Regions from separate parts of the Homo sapiens genome. Here regions 2, 3, 4 and 5 are each linked to region 1. Evidence: promoter capture Hi-C in human tissues and cell types (Jung and others, 2019). All regions are on one chromosome and are shown on one strand. The core of a region is centred on a gene start or on the middle of the fragment in contact, and the rest is flanking DNA. Distances in the headings are between cores, read along the strand shown. Region 1 holds the start of CHST11 (carbohydrate sulfotransferase 11). Region 2 overlaps SLC41A2 (solute carrier family 41 member 2). Region 3 overlaps SLC41A2 (solute carrier family 41 member 2). Region 4 overlaps CHST11 (carbohydrate sulfotransferase 11). Region 5 overlaps SLC41A2 (solute carrier family 41 member 2).

Region 1 (4,446 bases), core at 1,648-4,147:
AAATATCAGAAAAGTATATTTATAGAGATCTAAATAATAAACAATGGGAGAAAATAGGACTAGAGGGGGACATAAAGGATGGGGCAGGATCATCGACAGAGGATCTTTTTCAGCACAAGCTTAGAAAAGGTTCTCTGCCTCTTCCAAAAGGCTAGGCTGAAAAGATATGATGTCACTTTCAAGTCAACTTAAGACTAACAAGGGCTGGAAATTTTCACAAAGTGACAATTACAAGTTGGAAGTTTCTTTCTAGTATCTTTGGCTAGAAAGTTATTTCCCAATTCTCACAAAGAATTCCATGACAATTGTATTTCCCTGGGCAATTAACAGGTACACAGAAGCTCAAGCGCATTCCTGCTGAAGGCTGACACTCATCCGTGTTCTGGGCATTCGTACAGAGCATTACTGGCATTCACGGTCCCAGCGAAACCTGAACACAGCTCTAGAGTCTAGACCAAATCACCGGCCCCTTGTTTAAACTGTTTGAACCCGAGTGTATCTGTACACCACCAGTCCCCTGGCGCTCTGGGGTGAGTCTGGCCCGGTCTCCGGTGGGCCCTGGAGCTTGGCACTCTGAGATACCCCTGGCTGTCTGGCCCTGCCCACTGCAACCAAGGCCTGCCTGCCGGAATGCAAGCCAGGTCCATTTTTAAATTCCTTTATAAGTTTCACAACCGCAGGTTTGGGTGAGGAGACAAACACCGCTGTAGTTTGCTGACATTAAACTAAAAATACCCAGCTGCAAACAAAAGCCATCTTTAACAGGGCTGGCTCGGACGTCCTGAGGTTACATGTGGTAGAGTCGGACCATATCCTTGGCAGTGTGGCTGCCTTAACAACTGCTCCAGACCGAGTGGGGCAAAGGGGCCGTCTGTCCCTGCGCTGTCAAGGAATCTGCAGCCTGCAGCCCTGCCTGTTTGATGGAAAGAACAGCTTTATTCCTCTGCCATCGACCCAAACGCAGGCTTGATGAATTCGGGACTGCGTCTGTTTAAAGTGTTAGATACACAGTGAAAGGAGAAGGCGGGAGGCAAAAATGAAAAACACCAACCCCACTTCCCTGGAAGGAAATGCGTTTCCACCTCCCTCCTCCTTGCAATTAGAAAAGCAAATTATTGCTGTGACTACGCTGAGAAAGGCAACTCGGAGGCGTAGAAAATGGATTTCTGAGCCAACGTGGCCCGGCAGGGGGCTGCTAAGGGAGGGTAAAAGGGAGCAGGGGAGCCACGGCTTGGCGGGGAGACCCGCGTTACCCGGAAGGCTTCTCGGAACGTTCTACCTGTTGGGCTTCGCAGCCGAGCTGCTCACCCCCGGCCGCCGCGCTCGAGGGCGCCCCTCCCTCTCCAGAACCCAAACTTTCCCTCGCACCCCTAGGAAGCGACGAGCCTCGTCCCTCCCCCAGTCCAGATTTCGGACGTGGAACTTTGCCTGAGCCACAAGGGACCGGAGGAATGGGGTTCATTCCCACGCCGCCCGGGGGATTCCCGTTGCTCGGATCCCAGAAGTGGGGGATGCAAACGGACGGTCAGCCCAGGACCTGGCCAAAGTTTCCTCCAAAACTGCAGTGGTCAAGGCGTGACCCAGGAGCTCGGAGTTTCCAGCTCAGGGCTGGGGGCTGGAGCAGGCCCCGGGGCACCAGCCGCAAGGTCACTGCGGAGCCGGACCCCGGGGGCAAACGGCCGGCGCGTGGTGGAGGGGCAACGCTGGGCACCCGACCACTCTCCACACCTGCTCAGCTCTGCGCGGAGCCCGGGACACGTGGGAGCCCAGTCCCGGGCTCCCAGCCTGCTGCAGGGACTCGCAACCTCGCCGGGGCGTACACCCTTCGCCCCCGGCCCGGCAACCAGGAAGAGGCGGCTCGCCCGGGCGCAGAGCAGCCGGCTCCGGGTAACTCTTTCATCCTCCGACCTCGGCAGCAGCAGGGAGGGAGTTTCGTTCTCCTCAAACCAGCCCCTCACCCCCGGTTGCTTCCCACACCTCTCCGTTTCCCTGCTACCTCGCAGACAGACAGACAAGGGACACAAAGAAAAAAAGAAGAAGAAAAAAAAAAAAAAAAAAACTACCGCCCCTCCTGGTCCCATCCTCCAGCCCGGAGCCGGTAGGAAGAAGAGGGCGAAGCACACCTTCCCTTCTCCTCCCCATCCCGACGCGGTGACCCGGGTAGATCTGGGCAGCCAGGAGCTCTGGGCAGCCAGGAGCCCCGAAGAGGCCGAAGGCGGAGAGGTAGGGTTGGAAGAGGCAGAAATCAGGCGGAGCGAGCTAGAGCGCGAGAGAGAAGAAAATATCCAACAAAACCACGCTAACGCGCCCCCTACCTGGGTGCAACATACTTTGGAAATAGAAGATGACCAGGATAAAGGATCCCAAGCAAGTGGCCAGCACCATCCGGCAGATTCTGTTCATCCTCATCACTTCCAGCAGCGCTGGCTTCATGGCTTTGTCCTGGCTGCGGGGACCGGGGTGTCCGGGAAGCGCGCCCGGGGCGCAGGAGCAGGGACCCCGCCGCGCGGACCGGAGCCCGGGAGGCGCGGGGCAGAGCTGAGCAAGGCTCAGAGGGAGGATCGGAGTCGCTTCGCGGCCGCTCTCGGAGCCCCCAGCCCGGGCAGGGGTGTGGAAGGTGCCGGAGTTGGTCTGGAAGTGCTGAGATGCGTGGACCCGCTGGCTGCGCGCTCCTGCTCCTCCTCCTCGCCGCTCCGCCGCCTCCTCCGATCCCGCCGGCGGCCGCCGCTGCCTGGTCGCGGGCCGGGCGGCTGGGGTGCGAGCGGTGATGGTGGTGCCGCCGCCGCTGCCGCTGCGCTGGCCGCTGTGGCTGTCCGACGGGCCCTCTCCCTTCTCTCCAAAGGCTACTTCATTGCGCTCCAACGATCTATATATTCCGGGGCTGGGTTTTACCAAATGCAACTCGCGGCCCCCGGCGAGGGGAGGGCGCCTGCGGAGAGCCGGGAGGAGGGAGGGACCCTAGCGCCGGGGCGGAGCGTCGCGCTCCCCCCGCCCCTACCCGGGATATGGTCGCGTCCAGCTGTTGCCCGGGGAGTGCGGTGTGCGCGCCGCGCTCCCGCAGGGTCCCAAAAGCCCTCAGTCCCCGGCCGGGCTCGGCCGCCGTCTGGAGGTTGTGTCAGCGTTTCCATGACAAAACCCGGAGGAAAAAAAGACGAAGAAAATCGCCTCGGTGCTGCCACCCACCCCCGCCAGCGTTTGGAGAGGGAAGTGGCAAGCAGCGGGCTGGGTCTCGGAGGGAAGAATTAAGGGTTAGGGGGTTTCTGGTGGCTGGCAATTATTTAAAATCCCTGGGCGACGTAGCGGGGAAGTTGCCCCAAACCCCCAGGGAGCGAGTGCCCATTTTCCGACGCTCAGAACTGGGCGGTTTCGTTTTTCTTTCAAAGGACAGCCCAGCTTGGGAGTCGGGGTTAAAGAGGGCTGACTTAAAGTCAGGGTTAAGGAAACTGCACGACCCTCGGGTCAGGCGACAGCTGAGCTTTCCCGGGGACTTATACAGACAGAATCTCTGACACCCACCATCACCACCATTCCTCAAGGCAAAAGGGATCTGTGGGTTGCAAAACTCTGCTACCCCAAAGGGTAGAGCATCCTCCAAATTATTCAAAATTAACAGCAGTCTTAGCTGGGAGGGGGTGAGAAAATGCCCCTAGGAAGCCACCTCAACCAAGTCCAGAAAACTGCTGGAAAAGCCAAGCCAGCCATAGCACTGGCAGGTACATGGAAAGATGGTGCTGCTTTCTTGTATTGTGTAGAATGACTTCCAGTTTCCAATTCCATGCATTTAGGCTGTTTCACAATCAATAAAGTGGACACAGCCAATAGTGTAGGGATCACTCGTATGTCAGGGAAAAAAAAAATGTTAGTTAGACTAACCTTTGTGCCTTATCAAGTCATTACTAATTCAATTAAAAATGAAATAAGATACTGTGTCTTTCAATGCCTCTCACAAAATAGGCATTTGATAAATTCTTATTGAATCTGAATGTAATGGGCCTTATCCTCCCCTCGATAGACAGAGACACAACTTGCAGTTAGACACATGCAACAAAAACCACCTGGGCAACCTCAGTTCCCTTCCCCCAGAGTTCTCCTCCAGCAGTTGCATGGTGGGGAAAGTAACAAACTCAGCAGCCTTGCCTTTGATTACAGAAGACAATCAAAGCACAATATTTATGTAGCCGGTGTGCGCTGTATTAATTTGGACTTACCTGTGAATAAGTTGCTTGCTCAAGGAAGCCAGGCTGAACAAGCTTCAGACAGAGTCGTTCTCCAGTGATTCTTCTGCTCTGGTGATAGGAGATCAGGAATGGGAGTTGCACTGCACCCTCCCCACCTCCCCACCATCATCACTAAGAAAGGGGATTCCTTGCAGAGGGCATGGCTTAGATGGGCATTTGCACAAAGCCTTTGCCTGGAATATAAGTCTCTCATTTAACACTTGGCTTT
Region 2 (4,892 bases), core at 337-2,836, 400 kb before region 1:
TTAGGGCTCAGATTCAAGAGGTCTGTCCTCCCATCCCAACCATTCTGCCTCCAACCCCAAGTTGTTGCTCACAGTGAAAATTACATTCCCAGGTCTCAACAGGCAGAATACATTTCTGAAAAGTAATCTTTCTTAATCTTATCATGAACTACTAGTTTGAGAGTCAGGTATACCTGACTTAAGATTAATGTGGCAAAATATATTTCAGATTTTGTTTATTATTTACATTGGGATTATCAGCTATTGTATATTGTTTTGTTGTTTCTTTTGTCAATTTTTGTGGATAAATTAGAGACAGCTGGGTTTCAACATTGCTTATCCATTCAGTTCATTAAAATCTGGGGTGGGCACAGTGGCTCATGACTGCAATCCCAGTGCTTTGGGAGGCCTAGGTAGGAGGGTCGCTTGAGGTTAGGGGTTTGAGGCCAGGGCAACATAGTGAGACCCCCATCTCTATAAAAAATTCAAAAATTAGCCAGATGTGGTGGCACACACCTGTAGTCCCAGGTATGTCCTCAGGAGGCTGAGGCAGGAGGATTGCCTGAGCCCAGGAGTTAGAGGCTACAATAAGCCACTGCATGCTAGCCTGGGAAACAGAGTGAGACCCTGTCTTAAAAAAAAATAAAAGAAAAAAATCTATTGGTCCTCAGCTGATCCCTTTAAAAATCTGTCGTATATTTTTTTGTTATCTATGAAATGGGAATTATAATACTTAAATTCACAGACATTTATATATGAATTACATTTAATAAGATCATTTTAATCCAGTCTACCGGCTTCTGGGGTGACTGTCATTAAAGTGGATTTTTTTTTTTTTTTTTAGTTTAAGTTCTGGGATACATGTGCAGAACGTGCAGGTTTGTTACATAGGTATACATTTGCCATGGTGGTTTGCTGCACCTATCAACCCATCATCTAGTTTTTAAGCCCCGCATGCATGAGTTATTTGTCCTAATGCTCTCCCTCCCCTTGCCCCCCACCTGACAGGCCCTGGTGTGTGATGTTCTCCCTGTGTCCATGTGTTCTCATTGTTGAACACTAAAGTAGATTTTAAGTACAGCCTAGATCAATATAATTTAAAAAGTAATTCTACTTGGGGAAAAACATGTCCCAGGATATACTACATATTTAATGTAATTTACTTTGCATATCTATGTAAAAAGAAAATATGTCAGTTGGGCACGGTGGCTCATCCCTGTAATCCCAGTACTTTGCGAGGCCAAGGCAAGTGGATCGTTCAAGCTCATGAGTTTGAGACCAGCCTGGGCAATATGACCAAACCCTGCCTGCACAAAAAATATAAAAATTATATTTTTACAGGCATGGTGGTACACGCCTGTAGTCCCAGCTACTTGGGAGGCTGAAGCAAGAGGACCTTCTGAGCCTGGGAGGGAGGCAGAGGTTGCAGTGAGCCAAGATCACGCTACTGCACTCCAGCCTGGGCAACAGAGCAAGACCTTGTCTCAAAAAAAATGTATATATGTATATATGTAAAAAATATATATGACATATAAAGGCAAGTTCTTCAAAATCTAATTTCATGTCTAAAATTTCTACTGAATATTTTAATTTTTATATCACTTTAGAATATCAATGAACAAATTTTCCCTATAGGTCTCTCTCTTCATGCCACCATTCTCCCCGTCACCCACACATAAAATTGTGGGACCATCTATTTCAACCTGGTCCTTCATCCTCTTTGACTGAAAAATGACCAAGCCATTGTCTGCTTGCCCTTTAACACAGTTCACTTGCTCAATCATTTATTTATATAACAAGCATGTCTTACTCTTGTAGCCTAATGTCTCAATATAGCCATCATTCAAGTAATAAAGTAGGCTTCCTGACTCACTCTCTATTTGAGGCAAATTAAGTGTCACTAATAGCCTAGTCATTCTTAAACATTGTTTTTATTACATGGGTCCTAAGATGATGAATTTAACAGTGGTTTTTTTCCCTGCCTATCAGATCAAATTTGAATTCTTCTGCCTAGCTTTCAAGGCCCTCTGTACATGGTTGGACTCATTGTTTCCCAAAGACATGCGCAATTTTTTCATTATCATTCTAACTAGGTTTTTATATTGTCCCTACAAAGATTCATCTAATTTTCACTGCCTGGAATAACTACTGCTTTCCTCCCTCCTCTTCAGATCCTCTTCTGTGAATATTAATGGATGAGTTCATTAGCATAAACATTACTCATAATGACTGTTAGAGCTATATTAAACAACATTTCAGTAAGAAATTTAACTTAAATTACAATAACCCTTTTATTATAAGGCTTTAATGCATATTTCAGTTGTTTTACCTTAAGTAAGAAACAATTCTAGAGCTTCACTGAAATGCTCTCCTTGGATGTCTGTGCTGTGGCATTGTGTGATATTCATAGTAATATATTTTTAGTATCTCAGTAAGTAAACCTCTTAGTTGGCTATCAGCACTTTGGGAGGCCAAGGCAGGTGGATCGCTTGAGCTCATAAGTTTGAGACCAGCCTGGGCAACACGACCAAACCCTGTCTGCACAAAAATTATAAAAATTAGCCGGGCATGGTGGTACACTATGAGCTTATAAATTCCACTCTTTAAAAAACATTAATAGAGATGGTTTACTCTATGCTCCTCAAATAAGATGGAACTTTTGAGAATTGAATTTCATTTAAAATGTGTTGGGGAATGTACTATTTAAAGGACTCTTGTTTATCTTCATCATTATCATCATTATCTGCTATTTAGTGAGTACCTACCACTATGTACCAGGTAACTTACAGGTTTTTTTTATACATGTTGTGTCGTATAATCCTCACAATAAGATCAGTAGATTGTCTAAGGTCTCTTATCTTGTAAGTGGTGAGTCACGATTGAAAACCAGATCGGGTCTATTCTAAAGCCTGTGATTTTTTTTTTCTCAAAATATGCAGCTACTAATTTATGTTTTATTAGCTACAAGAATGCATACATTGTTTAAGGCATATCTGTGTTCATATTGTGACTAGGATATTTTTTAATATTTATTAATGTCTTTCAGAACTAGTGGCATTTTCCAAAATATATTTCATGGTAACACTAGTTCTGTGAGATGTTAATAAGTATAACTTGAAAAGTGAGTTCTGTGGTCAATCAAATTTGTTAAACATTAAGTTAAACAAACTTGCTTACTACGAGATTTCTTTATTGTTGTTGGTGTTAATTCTTCTTTATTTTTTTATTTTCTTTTTATTATACTTTAAGTTCTAGGGTACATGTGCACAACGTGCAGGTTTGTTACATATGTATACATGCGCCATATTGGTGTGCTGCACCCATTAACTCGTCATTTACATTAGGTATATTTTCTAATGCTATCCCTCCCCCCTCCCCCCACCCCACAACAGGCCTCGGTGTGTGATGTTCCCCTTCCTGTGTCCAAGTGTTCTCATTGTTCAATTCCTATGAGTGAGAACATGCGGTGTTTGGTTTTCTGTCCTTGCGATAGTTTGCTGAGAATGATGGTTTCCAGCTTCATCCATGTCCCTACAAAGGACATGAACTCATCCTTTTTTATGGCTGCATAGTATTCCATGGTGTATATGTGCCACATTTTCTTAATTCAGTCTATCATTGATGGACAAATTTGGGTTGGTTCCAAGTCTTTGCTATTGTGAATAGTGCCTCAATAAACATACATGTGCATGTGTCTTTATAGCAGCATGATTTATAATCCTTTGGGTGTATACCCAGTAATGGGATGGCTGGGTCAAATGGTATTTCTAGTTCTAGATCCTTGAGGAATTGCCACACTGTCTTCCACAATGGTTGAACTAGTTTACAGTCCCACCAGCAGTGTAAACATGTTCCTATTTCTCCACATCCTACTACGGGATTTCTTAAAGCCTTTATCATGCTAACATAAACGTGAGTCTCTCTTTCTGGTACTTCTGTTAGCTAGGTGTTGGGATTTCTAGATCTAACCTTCCTCAGACCCCCTAGACCACACTTTGAGAACCATTGATTTAGAGCTTATATCTTTTTTATCACAGTCTACTTTCAAACAATAGTAAACCACTTTACATATAGGATAAGAAGCTTATGTCACTATACTTGAAATACCACTCCTCTTTCTTATGTACTCTTTTTTGAAATACGTTTTACTTATGTACTCTTTTTTGAAATACGTTTTACTTTTTTGAAATAGTAAATCCTGTAATATATTGTTATTATTTTTTGCTTCAGTTATTTTTAAAAAGAGACTAAAAATGAAAAATATATCTTTTAGATTTTATCATATAAAGTTATATTTCCAGCACTCTTTCCTTTGTGTAGATCCAGGTTTTTATCTGGTATTATTTTCCTTCTGCCTGGAGAAATTCCTTTAATGTTTGTTGTAGGGCAGGCTTACAGAGAAAATAGAGTCTTTAGGCATGTCTCTCCCAGCGTGCTCTTTCCTTTCCCTTCACCTCTGTTCGTATCTCTAACAATGTCTATTTTTAACTTCTTTCACCCCTATCTCAGAAGAGCTGATTCTTTTGCCCAGGACTGACTAGTTGACCTGTGCCCTGGATACTATTCCATTACAATTCCAATGGGAGCCTTACTCCATCAATTATTTTAACTTTTCCGGTATCTCCCATGTCTTCCTCTCTTACATCTTTTCCCTTTAGCTTACAAATGTGCACAAGTTTTTTATCCCAAGTCACCTTTCCCATAGTGCTCTGCCTTCTCAAGCTTCTGTTCTGTCTCTTCTACTCTCTACAATCAAACTTTCCCAAGTGTAGTCTGTATTTTTTCAACTCATTATAGTATTTTTCTTCCTTCTCACTCTACAAAACTGCTTTTACTAAGCTCTCCAGTGACCTCCTAATTACTTTATCCAATAACTTATTTTCAGTCTTCATTCTATTCAGTTGTTTAATACT
Region 3 (4,949 bases), core at 1,096-3,595, 450 kb before region 1:
TGTAGTTTTAGTAGAGACGGGGTTTCACCATGTTGGCCAGGCTGGTCTCGAACTCCTGACCTCAGGTGATCCGCCTGCCTCTGCCACCCAAAGTGCTGGGATTACAGGCGTGAGCCACTGTGCCTGGCCTGGTTTGCTTAATTAAGGGAAAATGGCTCATGTACCCTACAGAGCTTTGTAAGTTCCTTCCTTATATAGTATATAAAAGGTCATATAGCTATATCTGCAGAGGACAATAATGAAATATCTGGTATTAGTGAGCTCTTATTATATGCCAGGTCCTTTGCTAACTGCTTTCCAGTGATATCTTATACCAACCCTATGGAATAAGCACTATTATCCTGCTTTGCAGAGTAGGAATTGAGGCTTAGAGCAGTTGAGTAACTTTCCTGAGGGCACACAGCTCTACATATAGTGGAATAAGTCACATTCCAGAATGTTCCTTTTACCTGCACAGGGTAACTCTGTCAGAATTTATAAAACCAATAAATAACAGCAGTAACAAAAACCTAATAGCTTCCCCATGTACTTTGTAAGAATGATCTGCTAAGGTCTTGGTCTTAGCACCAATACTTTTGGTACTTAATATTTAAAATATTTAAATGTTATTTCAAACATTATTATTTACAGATATAATGCTTTTCCATGTAGTTAGTTGGTAAACTATAGATGATGTTTGGGGGTATCAGTCAGCCACTTAGGTAGAGCCAAACTCATGGAGTAGAATTACTTTAGTAAATTCACTTTAGTCTATAGTATGTAGCCATTGTAATTATTGAACATTAAAAGGACTGAAAAAATAATAGGAGCTCCTTGGGCTGAAGCAGAAAAGTATACAATGAATCTCGAATATCTTGTGGTGCCAGAAAGTAAAGAAGTGCTAAAAATGAAAAAAAAAAAAAAAAGATGGGGACATGACAAAAGGATAACGAGTGACATACTGGCCAGATCTTGGAAAATTGGAGCCATACAATAGATAATGACAGTTACAGATTATATATAACCCATGGAAAAAAATAAGAATCCATTAGTCTATACATGAATAACAAGGCAGGCAAGGTCTCTGCTGTGATGGAATTTGCATAAATTTGGATATCGGTAAGGGAAGTAAAGAAAATCAAACAGGATAATGTGATGATGGATGATTCCTGAGGGCTATTTTACACAACGTGGTCAGGAAAGACTTCTCTGAGGAGGTATATGTAAGCTGGAACCTGAGTAGTAAAGGTGAGTCAGCCATATCGGAATCTGAGGAAAAATCAATCCAGGTTACTATTGTATTTAATAAATGTAACAATGTCAAATATTTATAAGCATTCTAGACAGCTGGGCTTTTAACATGCTTTTTAAGCATGTTAAATGCGTTCGTCGTTAAAAGCATTTTAAATGCTTTTTAAGCATTTAACAGCTAGGCTTGGGGTAGCAATACAAATGGAGACCTATATAACATATGTCTACATAGTTTAAAATTATACAACAAACTTACACACTTAAATATTTTCTCTTTCTGTGTACCTTGACAAATATATCCTTAGGAATACCTGGAAGTCCAAGATCAGATTTAGAATTTTTGGACTTCTTGGGTTCTGTTTTGGAACATGGTGTTGTAGAGAGAGCCACTGAGCCACCCCCTGGTCTGAGGCCTGCCCCAATTCCCTTCCCACCTTTGGTAATAGGTACTGCATTTTGAAAGACCTCACACATACACCAGGCCCCATGTCCAAGCTCCATCTACACCTCCAACAAACACCCACCCCTTGGCGTTCCTGGGGTTCATTGGCACCTAATGGTGGCATGGTCTGCCTTCAGGAACACTAACTTGAGATACCTTGGTCTCAGGTATCTGGAGCATATAGTCTAAGATTTATATTGGTTCCTGTATCCCAGTATTTCCTTATATAATGGTGACATTTGGTGTCAGCTGAATGTTGATTTCAACACTTGACCATTTGGCATACAGCTGCAATGTGTGTCAAGTATATCTCTAGCTTTTATCTTTAAGAAGAAAAAACAAAAAAACTTTTATGTAGTCTTGAGAGGTGACAGCGTGCTGGCAGTCCTCAGAGCCCTCGCTTGCTCTCGGCACCTCCCCTGCCTGGGCTCCCACTTTGGTGGCATTAGAGGAGCCCTTCAGTCCCCCCACTGCACTGTGGGAGCCCCTTTCTGGGCTGGCCAAGGCCGGAGCCCACTCCCTCAGCTTGCAGGGAGATGTGGAGGGAGAGGCACGAGCGGGAACCGGGGCTGTGTGCGGCGCTTGCGGGCCAGCTGGAGTTCCGGGTGGGCGTGGGCTTGGTGGGCCCCGCACTCGGAGCAGCCAGCCAGCCCTGCTGTCCCCGGGCAATGGGGGACTTAGCACCCGGGCCAGTGGCTGCGGAGGGTGTACTGAGTCCCCCAGCAATGCTGGCCCACCGGCGCTGCGCTCGATTTCTCGCCGGGCCTTAGCTGCCTTCCCACGGGGCAGGGCTCAGGACCTGCAGCCTGCCATGCCTGAGCCTCCCACCCACTCCATGGGCTCCTGTGCGGCCCGAGCCTCCCCGATGAGCGCCACCCCCTGCTCCACGGCGCCCAGTCCCATCGACCATCCAAGGGCTGAGGAATGCGAGCACAGGGTGCAGGACTGGCAGGCAGCTCCACCTGCAGCCCCGGTGCGGGATCCACTAGGTGAAGCCAGCTGGGCTCCTGAGTCTGGTGGGGACGTGGAGAGTCTTTATATCTAGCTCAGGGATTGTAAATACACCAATCAGCACCCTGTGTTTAGCTCAAGGTTTGGGAGTGCACCAATCGACACTCCGTATCTAGCTGCTCTGGTGAGGACGTGGAGAACCTTTATGTCTAGCTCAAGGATTGTAAATACACCAATTGGCATTCTGTATCTAGCTCAAGGTTTGTAAACACACCAATCAGCACCCTGTGTTTAGCTCAAGGTTTGTGAGTGCACCAATCGACACTCTGTATCTAGCTGCTCTGGTGGGGCCTTGGAGAACCTGTGTGTGGAAACTCTGTATCTAACTAATCTGATGGGGACGTGGAGAACCTTTGTATCTAGCTCAGGGATTGTAAACGCACCAATCAGTGCCCTGACAAAACAGGCCACTCGGCTCTACCAATCAGCAGGTTGTGGGTGGGGCCAGATAAGAGAATAAAAGCAGGCTACCCGAGCCAGCATTGGTAACCCGCTTGGGTCCCCTTCCACAGTGTGGAAGCTTTGGTCTTTTGTTCTTTGCAATAAATCTTGCTACTGCTCACTCTTTGGGTCCACGCTGCTTTTATGAGCTGTAACACTCACCGCGAAGATCTGCAGCTTCACTCCTGAGCCCAGCGAGACCACGAGCCCACCAGGAGGAACGAACAACTCCAGACGCGATGCCTTAAGAGCTGTTAACACTCATCGCGAAGGTCTGCAGCTTCACTCCTGAGCCAGCGAGACCACGAACCCACCAGAAGGAAGAAACTCCGAACACATCTGAACATCAGAAGGGACAGACTCCAGACGCGCCACTTTAAGAGCTGTAACACTCACTGCGAGGGTCCGCGGCTTCATTCTTGAAGTCAGTGAGACCAAGAACCCACCAATTCCAGACACAGTCTTACTGAGATTTTGAGAATTAGTGAAATTATATGCATGTGTTTCATCTTTTCCTACTTGTATTATGTTATAAGAACTGGTGAATTACCTAGGTAGATAGAACTCAATCCGAGAGGCTTTTTGGCGGGAGAAGAGAATGAAGAGGCCTTGAGAAACAAAAGTGGCAACATTTGAAGAAGAAAGTTATTTGAATGGGAGTTAAAAGGTGCCTTTAGTTTCATTTGTTGGAAATTGAACTTTGCTCTGATAAACATAGTTAAGCATACAAGAATTTAAGCAACTTGATAACTTTGGCAGGAAAAGTGAAGTTTTGGCTAGCTTATCTCAAAGAAAATATTTCAAAAGTATTGTTCTTGAGCATTATCCAGAATAATAATAGATTTAAAACACCAGTCTGTTTTGAAATAGGCCATGCTGTAGGGAATCTGGTTAAAAAACAAAATGCTGCAAATGATATTTGCTGTTTAATTTGATCACATACTACCGTTAAACCTGAATGAAGGTGAATTTAATCTTTTTTTAACCTTCGTTAATTTGTTGTGGTGTCTATATTTTACACTAGGTATTTTTCTCAAATGTCTGGTTATATGTATGTGTCCATATTTAAGAGAAGGAGTCTCAGGAGCTGATTACAAGCCCAGCACAGGGGAGAAGCTTGCCATCTGTGGTCTCTACTCTGCTGCAGGGTGATCTAACTTAGTATTTCTTTAGAGAGGTAGGGGTAGAGCTGCCAGCTTCCATTGGTTGAGAGCTGTGCTACTGATAAGAAGATAGTTCAGTCAAGGAAATAAGAAAACATTATAAGGAAATAAGAAAACGTAAATAAGAAGTGTTGAGGCCATTTGTGATAGGAATGCCCTAGGCAATGCAAAGGGCCAGAGGCAGGACTGTTGTTGGTATGTTAGATCAGTAGTTCTCAAAGTGTGCTCTTCTGATCAGCAGCATCAGCAACTTGTTAGAAATACAAATTCTCAGCCCCACTCCAAAACTACTAAATTAGAAACTCCAGTGGTGTGGCTCAGCAATCTAAATTTTAACACACTCTCCAGATGATTCTGATACACATTGAAGTTTGAAAACCACTGTGTTAGATAAAGAGCATGGAGGCCAATAGGGCTGGGACCGAGTGAGTGAGGGGGGACAATTTTAGGGGATGAGCCAGAGGCCAGATTATGTACGGATTTGCCTAGTTTGTGAGATAAGAAACCAATGGAAGGTTTTAAACAGAGGAGTTAATGTGATCTGATAGATATTTTTTAACAGATTATTTTGACTACTGCATTGAGATATGGGTATAGGGGGCTAAGGATTGAAGCAGGGAGTCTGTTGCAATAATAGCTTAGAGATAATATTCAAGATGGTA
Region 4 (5,086 bases), core at 373-2,872, 280 kb before region 1:
GCCTGAGCCTGGCACCCAGCATCTGCATCCTGGCCCCTGCCAGCCCCTCAGGCTCTGTCTCTCAGCAGCCCTGTCCCATGCAGGGCACTGGACCCCTGTGATTTCTCTAGAAGTACTGCGCTTTCTTGCACCTAAGGGACCTGCCCAGGAGCAAGTCCCCTGCCCCCAAGTCTCTCTGGATTTGCTCACTCTCTTCTTCCCGCTAACTGTGGGGCTTTCAGACCTCACCATATTCCTCACTTCCTCTAAGATGATGTCTCGGATGACCCAGCCCCACCACCAGGCTTGGATCAGTCAGGTATCCCCTTTTCCTGGTGCTCCGCCAGTGATCTAGGCTCATCTCTCTTATAGAACGTGGTATTATTATTTTTACCATTATTGCTGTTATCATTCACAGCACAGCCACCAGCACCACCAGAAGAGCTAATATATTTTGAGTGCCAGGTGCCAAGCATCGTCCTAAGCTCTTGTGTAATCACATTTAGTCCTTCTATCACTCCTACAAGGTAGAGACGTATTATATTTCCATTTTATAGATGAGGCAACTGAAACCCAGAGAGGTGGTCATTTAAGTCACAAAGCTAGCCGGTGGTGCAGCCAGGATTTGAACCCAGGTAACTGGACTCTGGAGCTTACTCTCTTCTCACAACATACTGTAACTGTCTGTTTACCCATAGATCCCTACCTCTGCTCCCTGAAGTTCAGGACTGTTGCCTTGCTCATCCTGGAATCCCCTGTGTTGAGCACCATGCCTGCCCCCAGAGCAGGAGCTCAAAAAATGTTTGCAGAACAGAAGCAAACCTGGCAATTTTGCAGTTTGCCCTGATGAGGGCATGTGGTGCCTGGCAGGGTTCACGTAAACAACACGATGATGATACAGAATCACTGTGTTATTTATCAGATAAACGCAGGCCCCACCCTTGTCTAAGCATCCCAAACCCTCCTCCTCTGGATCTCCATATTATCTGTCTTTTGTCTGTGTTCTCTTGCTGTTACTTTGCCATAAAGCTCCCAGGAGGCAGAGCGCCAGTTCTCACAAATCCTCCTCACCCTGGGGCACTTCCCTGAGTGCCTACCAGGAAAGGCTGTTGGTGGCTGACTGGGTATCCCATGGGGTGAAGGGTGGAATGAACTACAGGGCAATAACCCCAGGTCCTCATTCCTCCCCATGGCAAAGTAAGAAACATGGGACTGGAATATCACAGGCCACCCCGTTTTCCACCTGTGACCGTATTCAGAACTAGGGGCGGGAGAAACAGCAGGCATTTGGGTCCGGATCTTAAGGTCCAGCCCTGCCCTTGTTAGCAGCACAGCCTTGGGCAAGCTGACCTCTCTGAGCCCCAGTTTCTGCAACTATACAACGGGCCCGGGGTGAGATTTAAATGAATGACATTCATCTTGTGCCTACACAGGGCCCGGAACTGCTGGTCCTTCAGGAGGGATCGTGCCCCTGTGATCCTGAGGCCAACCATCTTTCTGATGAATTTTGGGGCTGAATTTTCCTCAAGCAGCTCTGTACCTCCAACTATTTCAAGATAGTTGGATTTAAAATTTTTAAATAAGAAAAATAAACAGAAAAGCACGTCCACTTCTGCAGAGAAGCATGGGCTGGGCCTGAGCAAACACCTCCCTGTGCCCCTCTGGCGCCAGTGCTGACCAGGTACCTCTCAATAAGCAGCTCTGCTGGCGGAAGCTGGCCCTCCTGGCAGGGGAAGCCCTGCTGCCTTCTTTGGAGGAGCAGTGCCCAGCCAAAAGCTACAGAGATTGCTGGTGGTGGCGGGGAGGAGGCATAAGCCCACATTCCTGGGCAGCCCCCACAGGCACACACTTTTGCCAGGGCTGGGCCATGGGGGCATGGCAGCCATCATGGCATCATCAGAAGGCTCAAAGCGCCCCCCGCTGGCTTTTCAAAGAAACCAGACCCATCACCCAACTCCTCCTACCTTACAACGTCAAAAGCAGGGTTCCCCTCCTCAGAGGCAGTATAGATAAGATCAGTGCAGCCAACCAATCTCCCTGGGTTGAATCTGGTTCTGCCACCTACTTAATGATGTGTGATCTTAGGCAAGTTACTTCACCTCTCTGTGCCTTAACTTCCTTATCTATAAGGTAGGGATAGTATTAGGTTGGCGCAAAAGTAATTGCAGTTTTACCATTACTTTTGATGACAAGAACTACAATTACTTTTGCACCCACCTAATGGAAGTACCAACCTCACAGAATATGCAAAGCATTCAGAAGACTGCCTGAAACACAGTGTGTGTCAAAGTGTTGGCTGCGACTCCCAACAACTGATCCTGGTTCAAGGGTTCCATCATGCAGCCCTGGGAGGGAGGGTTGAACACGGGGGAACTTGCTGGGTTTAAAGGTGCCCCCAGAATCAGGCAAGGCCCTTTCCTGATACCCACAGTCAGTGTTACTGCCTCCCACAAAGGCCTTATAAATGTCCCCTTTCCTCTTTCTTCCATGCCATGGGGAAATCTTGGATCTACTCTGAGGTCTTTTCCCTGTGGGATCTGGAAAGCTAGACTCCAGATTTTGCATCTAGCAAAAACAGTCTGGCCTCATGCCCTCCACAGCTACATTCAAGATATGTCTTATCTACATCATCTTCCAGTTAAAGAACCCGGTGGCAGAACAGCATTGTGGGAAGAGGACACACCCTGGAGACAAGGTGCATGGGTGGAATCCCAGTGCGTGACCTTGCACACATCACCTCACTGGTCTGGGCCTCAGTTTCCCCATCTCTCATAGGGCTGGTCATACCTACTACACAAGGGTGTGGAGCAAAGATTAAGTGAGACGATGCATGTCAAGTTCAAAGCACAGGGCTGACGCCCTCTTTGTGAACTACATGTAAGGAAATAAGTGCTTAAAAAAAATACTTAATACTTAGTTCCAGAAAGAAAGCTTCCAATTCCGATGTCACTGCAAAATCAGTCCCCATTTGTTTTGCCATCTGGTCTCATCAGTGATTAGGAAGCTGGGGAGGAGGATGCCAAAAAGAATCTGGAGACTGGGGGTATCAATAGATGATGTGAGCACCTGGGTGTGGCAAATGCCCCGGTGACAGCAACACCAATCGGATACCTGACTGAGCTCAGGTTTGGATATGGACACTTGGACAGGAGGGACATTTGGTGGCTAAGCCCCAAAAGGTGTTTTATTACCTAGTGCTGTGCATGACAGGCACTCCCGCCTGTTACTTCACCCTTAGACCCTTAGAGGGTGGGTTGGGGAAGGGAGAAGAGACGTGAGGAGACTCAGAGATAGGGCAAGAAGGTCTATTTCTAATGTGATGAAAGGTGAATTTTTAAAAAGTAAGTAAAATCCATTGATTTAGTTTTCAGGCCATCTATAAATGTCCCTGGGGTCAAAACTTACGAAAACCAGCCACTGAGTCTAGCTTTTCTGCCAGGACCCTGTCAAAGGCTGGGGAGGCCCTTAGGGAAATAGGGATCACTGCTTTCATCTTTCTGAGGCACCCACGTCTTTGGGAGAAGCCTTGCTGGGGTCTGGCTTATGGCACATAGGCGAACAGAAGGACAGGCTCCTGGCACAGCCAGGTCCATGCCAGCAAAGCTCACGAACCCCAGGGGGCCCAGCCACCACAGGGCATGGCCATAACCTGCCACCTCCTGCTTCTGAGCCACTGATGCTGAGGTGTACCCAAATAAAACTGACCACCAGCAGCGCAATCCTCTTCCCTGGAGGGACCGAGCATAGCTGTGGAGCTGGTTGCAGTTTCTCCTGCCCTAGGACAGAGGGGAGGATGTTGGGGTGGACTTTCTGCCATCACTGCTGATTCCCCCAAAATGCCACCAAAGGCCAATCTGCTGGGCTGCCAGCCCCTGGGGCAGGCTCATCTGTCTCATTCACAGCTCTATTCCCAATGCCCAGTACGTTGGGGATTAAACAGTATTTAGTAAACAAATGCACCTTGAAGGAGGCCGCAGTTGCGTTGGTGCAAAACTACATTTTGGAATCATGACACGGATGGACATTATGCCAGGGAAGGAAGGGAACTAAAAATAGGAAACCTTTACTTGGTGCTGGAAACTGGACACATTATACCCCGAATCCTTTCAACCCTGAGAGGTGGACATGCTCAGCTCCAATTTACAGATGGAAACGCTGAGGCCCGCAGAGGCTGAGTCCGTGGTCCCGAGTCTCAGGGGTGCGGGGGTTTACACCCAGTTTGCTTACTCTCCTATTACAAAATGTGGCCTTAGAGCCACAGCCCTCGAGCCCATTTTCAGAACAGGGATACCAGGTTCTCCCCTCTTCTCCTTCTGATCCCCCCAAAATAAAACCGGGAGAAGCCTTTCAGGTCTGTTTTCATACTTCCAGCCCAAGCAGGACTTACTCTCTTAGGTCTCAGCAGCATAGACAGCCACCTCGCTGCACAGGCTGGAGGAGGATGACATCTCTTTGGTGTACTTCTTTCGGCTTTGGTTTGCTTACGGATTGAACTGCCTGTTTAGTTTGCTGGTGGGAGTGTCCCTGTTCGGGCTGCCCTTGTTTTCCAGGGCGGGGGCAGCCGTGTCTGGGTGATAGATACATTCACCCTCCATGCCTCTAAGCCATGTCGTGTACAGTAAGTTAGCCCTCCGATGAGGGTTCTGGTCAATTTGGGTTCTCTGGCTTGGAAGGATGCAGGAGACAGCCAATGTCAAGGCACACAGATAAACAAGATGAAATGGAGCTGGCAGCCAGGACTGGCCTGAGGAAGACAGCTCGTAAGTGGAGCACGGACAGCAAATGTTCAGGATGCAGGACAGCTGCAGCAGTCCAGGGCAGAAGGTAAGATGGGCATCCTCTCCCTGGCTTTGACATTGAGGCAGCTGCAGTTAACTACCTCACAGCTGGGACCAGGGAGCTGTGGGGAACAGACTTTTCTGGCAGCTGCAACCCAGGAGCCTTGTAGAGCCCTTCTGGGAAACTGCTGCACCTTCCGTCCACTCCAAGTTGGCCTTGGATTCAACCTGGCCACTCCTAGAGATGAACAGTGTGGACGAGCAGAAGCCACTCCTCTCCCCATTTCTTCCCAAAGCAGAGGATAAAGGAGTGAGGATGTTATATCCTG
Region 5 (4,938 bases), core at 1,415-3,914, 380 kb before region 1:
GATCTTCAACTTCTTCCAGCCAGGCATATTGCCCCAGAAGGATATTCATTCCACAGGATCCATACCGAATCAATGCCTACTGAAGTCAAGTAGGAATCCATTCCAAGCACATAAATATCTCCTGAATGTTCTGAGAGAAGGACAAACTGCTATGGAAGTTCAATAGTGGGAGAGGTTTTTCTATGTGGGGAGGAAGTTTTATAGTGGATAACAATTTGCTTTGTTGGAATCCATAGAAAATGCCGTTTCAGCTAAAAGGAGTAGCATTAGGCAAATGAGAAAAACTCAGGGTATTTATGGAAAACAGCCAGAAATTTCCTGGAGTTAAAAGGAGTGATGAAAAATAAGGTTAGAAATTATAGGTTGTAGCAAGATCATCAAGGAGCTTAAAGAACAGATGATAAAGAGTTTAGTTTATTCTATAGAGTGGTGATTTTCAACTATTTTCCACTCCCAACAAACTTGAGAGATCTGACACATTCCTCTGATGCAGTGTGAGATAATTTATAGGGCTTGGGCTCTGGCTTCCACCATCAAATACCTGCATCAGCTAGGCAGTCACTGCTCAGGCACTGTTTCCCACCTGTATAAAGGGGCTAAGACTAGACCAACCTTGTGGGTTGTTATAAGGATGAAATGATGCATTTAAGGTGCTATTATTTTCATCATTATTGTCTTATTTTTTAATATCAACATCATCATCATCAATAGCTATGGATTACTGGGACAGTGACTCTCTTAGGGTGGCAGTGGAGCAATCAGAACCTATGAAACCAGCATTAAGAGTCTCTACCTTGATTCTGATACCTTACTCCATTCCTTGGAGTCACTTTTCTAGATAAGGAAGAATGTAGCCATATGGTAACAACATGACTATAATTGGAATCCCAGGATAACTACCCAGTAGCTGAGCAAGTTAATTAGCTTGGCCTCAGGCAAGTTACTTTATTCCTTGGAGTCTTATTTTCTTTGCATATAAAATGATAAGGCTTCCTTTTTGCACAGCAGTTATAATATTTAAATACTTGACACATAGTAGGCCCTCATTAAATGATGTAGTTATGTCTTTTTTTTTTTTTAAATCATGATGCTAACTCAAACCCTGTTCCCAGATGGCATCTCAAAGGAAAAACCTAAGCAACCAGGAGATTTAAACAGGTTACTTAATCTTCATATTTCTTCTCACTCCTCAGGATTTAATTCTACCAGATTCTAACTGAAAGTAGGAGCTCTTTATTTTGTCTATGTGACTGTTCTGCCTCTGTCTCTTAATTGGTTTCTCTGTCTGTCAGCTTGGGTTGAAGGAGAAGTATAAAGAGAATGATAAAGGAGATATGAAGGGAGGGCCTATAGTTCCTAGAATTTTTTTTCTAGCTGTAAAAACAGCTCCTTTAACTTTTGGAGTTGATCAATATGCTTACCTTAAGATAGGAAGTTAAAGCAGGTGAATTTTTGAGATTATTTTTTAACAGCCTCGTGATTGCATTTTTGTTATGTGTGATTATGCTATTATAGCTTAGGTTGTAAGGTCTCAAATTGAGACACCTTTCTAAATCCATATTTATGGTTAATTCTTTAGATAGGTATGCTTGGGCTCCAGGCCAGTGATGCACAGAAGATGAAATGACTGTCTGCTTTATTGGAGGCACAGCATGCTTGATTCCTGTGAGGTGAGGCATTGGGAAAGAGCTCTTTTCGGTCTTGTAAAGCCTGATAAAGGTGAAGGTAGAACCAGGGAAGCTCAACCATCTTTTCTCAAGTATTCTGCTTAGGACATTGCTTCCTGTGCTCTGAATCCTGCTGACATTGCAGATATGATTTAGAGGAATTTTCACATCATCTACAAAAAAAATCTTATAACTGAGTGAAACCACATAATTGAAAAGTGTAAAAATAATTACTCAGGAAATTTGCCAGAATAAAATCTAGGTTGATTTGTGACCCTAGAATATTCACCCCCCACAAAAAAAAAACAACAAAACACTGACCTGAATGATTCTATAATTGAAAATGTTTAGCTATTTTTAAGAATAGATATTAGCACAATACCACTTTTTAATTTGAAAGCTAAACATTTGTATTAGTTCAGTGTAACAAAGGTAATTAAATTATATTTTTGTACTATCTAGGGAAATGTATTAAAGCAAAAAGTTTCCAAAGATTTTTGCATTTATTAAAAGGGAAGCTTAAAGGGTATCAAAGGATGGTGAGACCGTCACTCAGTAACTGAAATAAAAAGACAAAGCTGAATTTTTACTTACTATTGTAATGGAGTTATACTGGGATCAGGCACAAGCAGAGCCAACTATTGATCTTCTGTAGGGTTTTAGAGAAGCATGGCTTCAGGAACTGGCAAATGTTCAAAAGCATATTTGGACTAATGTCATCTGTAGAAGTATGATTACTTGGGTATGACCATTGTTTGGTTGGCCCCTAGGGATACATTTAATGGAATTGATTAGTTCCTAATTGGCTACTTCAGGAACAAGGACTATCATTGATTGGCTAGCTTCTAAAGCATGTTCAATGAGGCAAGTTTATTGATTGAATGAATTTAAAACCAGTTGTGGTGGCTACTCGTTACTGTGGCTAAAGAACAATCAGTCTTTTCCAATGAGTGTAGAAACTTATTTATTCTTAGTTCTCACTTTTGCTCTTCACTCAGGAGAAATAATTAAGAATTATCCAGACATTCAACTCTGTTGTTGATTCTCCCTAAAGATGAGATTTCAGTGTAGAGAACTCTTTTCAGTTTAAGTGTCAATCAGCATGATTTCATATTCTTTTTATCTTTGAATCATTTGTTGAACCATCTGCTGGGACAATAGCTGTGCAAAAGCATTTGAGACCGGACAATAAGCATTAAGTGACTGTAAGACAAACAAGAATAACAAGAAATATTTTAAGAAGGGACAAGAAGGCACTTCAGTACCAAGACATAAGATTTTTGAGGCCTGACCAAGAAAACAAGTCTGTATGTTTCTCTAGGTAGCTTGACTGCCTTTTTTTTTTCTTTTTAGCTTAGATATAAGTTGCTTCATTTCATCTGTAATGTTAGTTCAGGTATAGCGTGAAGTGTTAGCAATGGTTTAGGTTGGCCAAGAGAAAATACAACACCATTGTATTATCTATAGCTATAACAGTTAACTATAACTATTTGAGTTAAGGAAATTAAATTGTTCCCCCAGGGCTTGGACTGTGTTATTTACTGTATCAGCCAAAGTGAGAGGTAAATCTTCATGGACAATTTTGAATTGTCAGTTCAAATTGTCCAATTGACTGTCCTGTTGATGGGGTTGATATTTTTAGGCATTTGTTCCACTAGTTATTGTTTTCCCAGAAAGGACTCTAATGAGACATAATCCATCCAAGGGTACTGGGGAGTCATATCCTTGAATTGGCTTAATAACTCTGCATAACAATTAATCTTTTCCTGGATTGGCATTAAAGAAACTAATTCCTACATAGGAAGAAAGAGCCAGGAATTGTACAAGAGAGATAATCCGTAAAGACAGGAATGGAAAGGAGAGTGTGACATAGAAAAAGTTTGTTCTAATGGTCATGGGTGGAATCTGTCTGCTTTGTGTAGTCAACTCTTTGTTCTGAGAATCTTGGGTTAATAGTCAATTCCCATGGATCATCTGCTTCTGAAGGTATGCTGAAGAACCTCAGTTTATGTTCTCTGATGAGTTGTTACTTTTTAGCTCTGCCAAAGTCTCTTTCATTTTTCCAGAGGATAGCAGAGGATGTGGCCAGTTCAGGCTCATGCAGGGATTCTGTTTTATTCATCACTGAAGTTTCAGCACCCAACCCTCTGCCTGGCACAGTAAATATTTATAAAATGAATATTGTTTTTTATTATTTGTGAATTATTTTAGGCATTTCAGTTATGTTTCTTCATTTCGATTCTGATATCCCATTGAAAGCAATAACTATGTCTTATTCTTTGAATGCTTCAGGAATCTCATCACACTGTTTTCTATGTTAGATATAAATAAGTATTCATTAAATTAGATATATTGAGTGTATTTTGTATGGGTAATAGGGAAGCACCTGACAAGGTTCTCTATCTGAAAGAGGTAACATATCAGTTGGAGAGATTAAACATACACCCATAAACAATTTGAAGGTATATTTTTTAAATGTAAAATTACATTCTCAACAAGTGTAATAAAATATTCTATGAACAACTACAGTGATATGTTGCTTAACAATGGGGATACAATATCTAAACTTAGAAACAGTGCAGTAAAAATATGGTATTATAATCTTACAGAACCACCATCATCTATGTGGTCCATTGTTAACAGAAATGTCATTATTTGGAGCATGACTGTGGGTATTTTAACATCATGGCCAGTTTAGAATGTTAAACTTTACGTTTGGCAGGTCATGGTGGCTCATGCCTGTAATCCCAACATTTTTGGAGACTGAGGTGGGAGAATCGCCTGAGGCTTGGAGTTTAAGACATTTTATTTTTAAGACATGGGGAGACCCAGTCTCTACAGAGAGAGAGAGAGAGAAAGAGATTTTAATTTTATGATCGAAAGTAAATAGGCTGAGTGTGGTGGCTCATGCCTGTAATCTCAGCATTTTAGGAGGCTGAGGCAGACAGATTGCTTGAGTTCAGGAGTTCAAGACCACCCTGGTCAACATAGTGATACCCCATCTCTTAAAAATGAAAATGAAAAGAAAAGAAAGTAAAGCTTCATAGTGAAGTACTATTATACTATATACATCAGGGATAATGAATGATCTACAACTCTATACAACAATATAGTAAATCTCATGAACATAAGGTTAATCAAAAGAAGCCAGACACAAACTACATATTGTATGATTATGTAAGTACAAAGATAGGCATAAAAGGTTTTTTAAAAGTAAATGAAGTTTGATAACTAACTTCTGCCAGCATAAGAACTAATATAATGTAGGAAA

Evidence for each region. The method cuts DNA at HindIII sites, captures the fragments that hold promoters and counts their contacts. A contact is called where the count stands out against the background at its distance.
Region 2: a contact is called between a fragment that was not itself captured here and the fragment with the promoter of CHST11 in region 1, in 1 of the 25 tissues and cell types used here (aorta).
Region 3: a contact is called between a fragment that was not itself captured here and the fragment with the promoter of CHST11 in region 1, in 3 of the 25 tissues and cell types used here (H1 embryonic stem cells, aorta and spleen).
Region 4: a contact is called between a fragment that was not itself captured here and the fragment with the promoter of CHST11 in region 1, in 4 of the 25 tissues and cell types used here (IMR-90 fibroblasts, liver, neural progenitor cells and 1 more).
Region 5: a contact is called between a fragment that was not itself captured here and the fragment with the promoter of CHST11 in region 1, in 6 of the 25 tissues and cell types used here (H1 embryonic stem cells, IMR-90 fibroblasts, dorsolateral prefrontal cortex and 3 more).

The regions. Positions count from the first base shown.
Region 1 is chr12:104,455,399-104,459,844 of GRCh38, reverse strand. CHST11 (carbohydrate sulfotransferase 11) reads right to left here and starts at 2,897. Exons shown (of 3, transcript NM_018413.6): 1 at 2,316-2,897. The coding sequence starts at 2,433. RefSeq lists silencers at 1,359-1,418, 1,579-1,718, 2,309-2,588, 2,629-2,798, 2,879-3,008 and enhancers at 2,109-2,158, 3,079-3,158, 3,179-3,228. The HindIII fragment of the contact is 13,105 bases long and covers 2,186-4,446 here.
Region 2 is chr12:104,856,324-104,861,215 of GRCh38, reverse strand. All of the region lies in intron 8 of SLC41A2 (solute carrier family 41 member 2), which reads left to right. Among named protein-coding and RNA genes, the nearest start is that of SLC41A2, 100 kb to the left of the region's middle. The HindIII fragment of the contact is 5,592 bases long and covers 1-4,382 here.
Region 3 is chr12:104,903,163-104,908,111 of GRCh38, reverse strand. The region is part of intron 3 of SLC41A2 (solute carrier family 41 member 2); the gene reads left to right. Among named protein-coding and RNA genes, the nearest start is that of SLC41A2, 53 kb to the left of the region's middle. The HindIII fragment of the contact is 5,831 bases long and covers 1-4,949 here.
Region 4 is chr12:104,730,700-104,735,785 of GRCh38, reverse strand. The region is part of intron 2 of CHST11 (carbohydrate sulfotransferase 11); the gene reads right to left. Among named protein-coding and RNA genes, the nearest start is that of MIR3922, 140 kb to the right of the region's middle. The HindIII fragment of the contact is 7,646 bases long and covers 1-5,086 here.
Region 5 is chr12:104,830,823-104,835,760 of GRCh38, reverse strand. The region is part of intron 10 of SLC41A2 (solute carrier family 41 member 2); the gene reads left to right. Among named protein-coding and RNA genes, the nearest start is that of SLC41A2, 120 kb to the left of the region's middle. The HindIII fragment of the contact is 4,985 bases long and covers 172-4,938 here.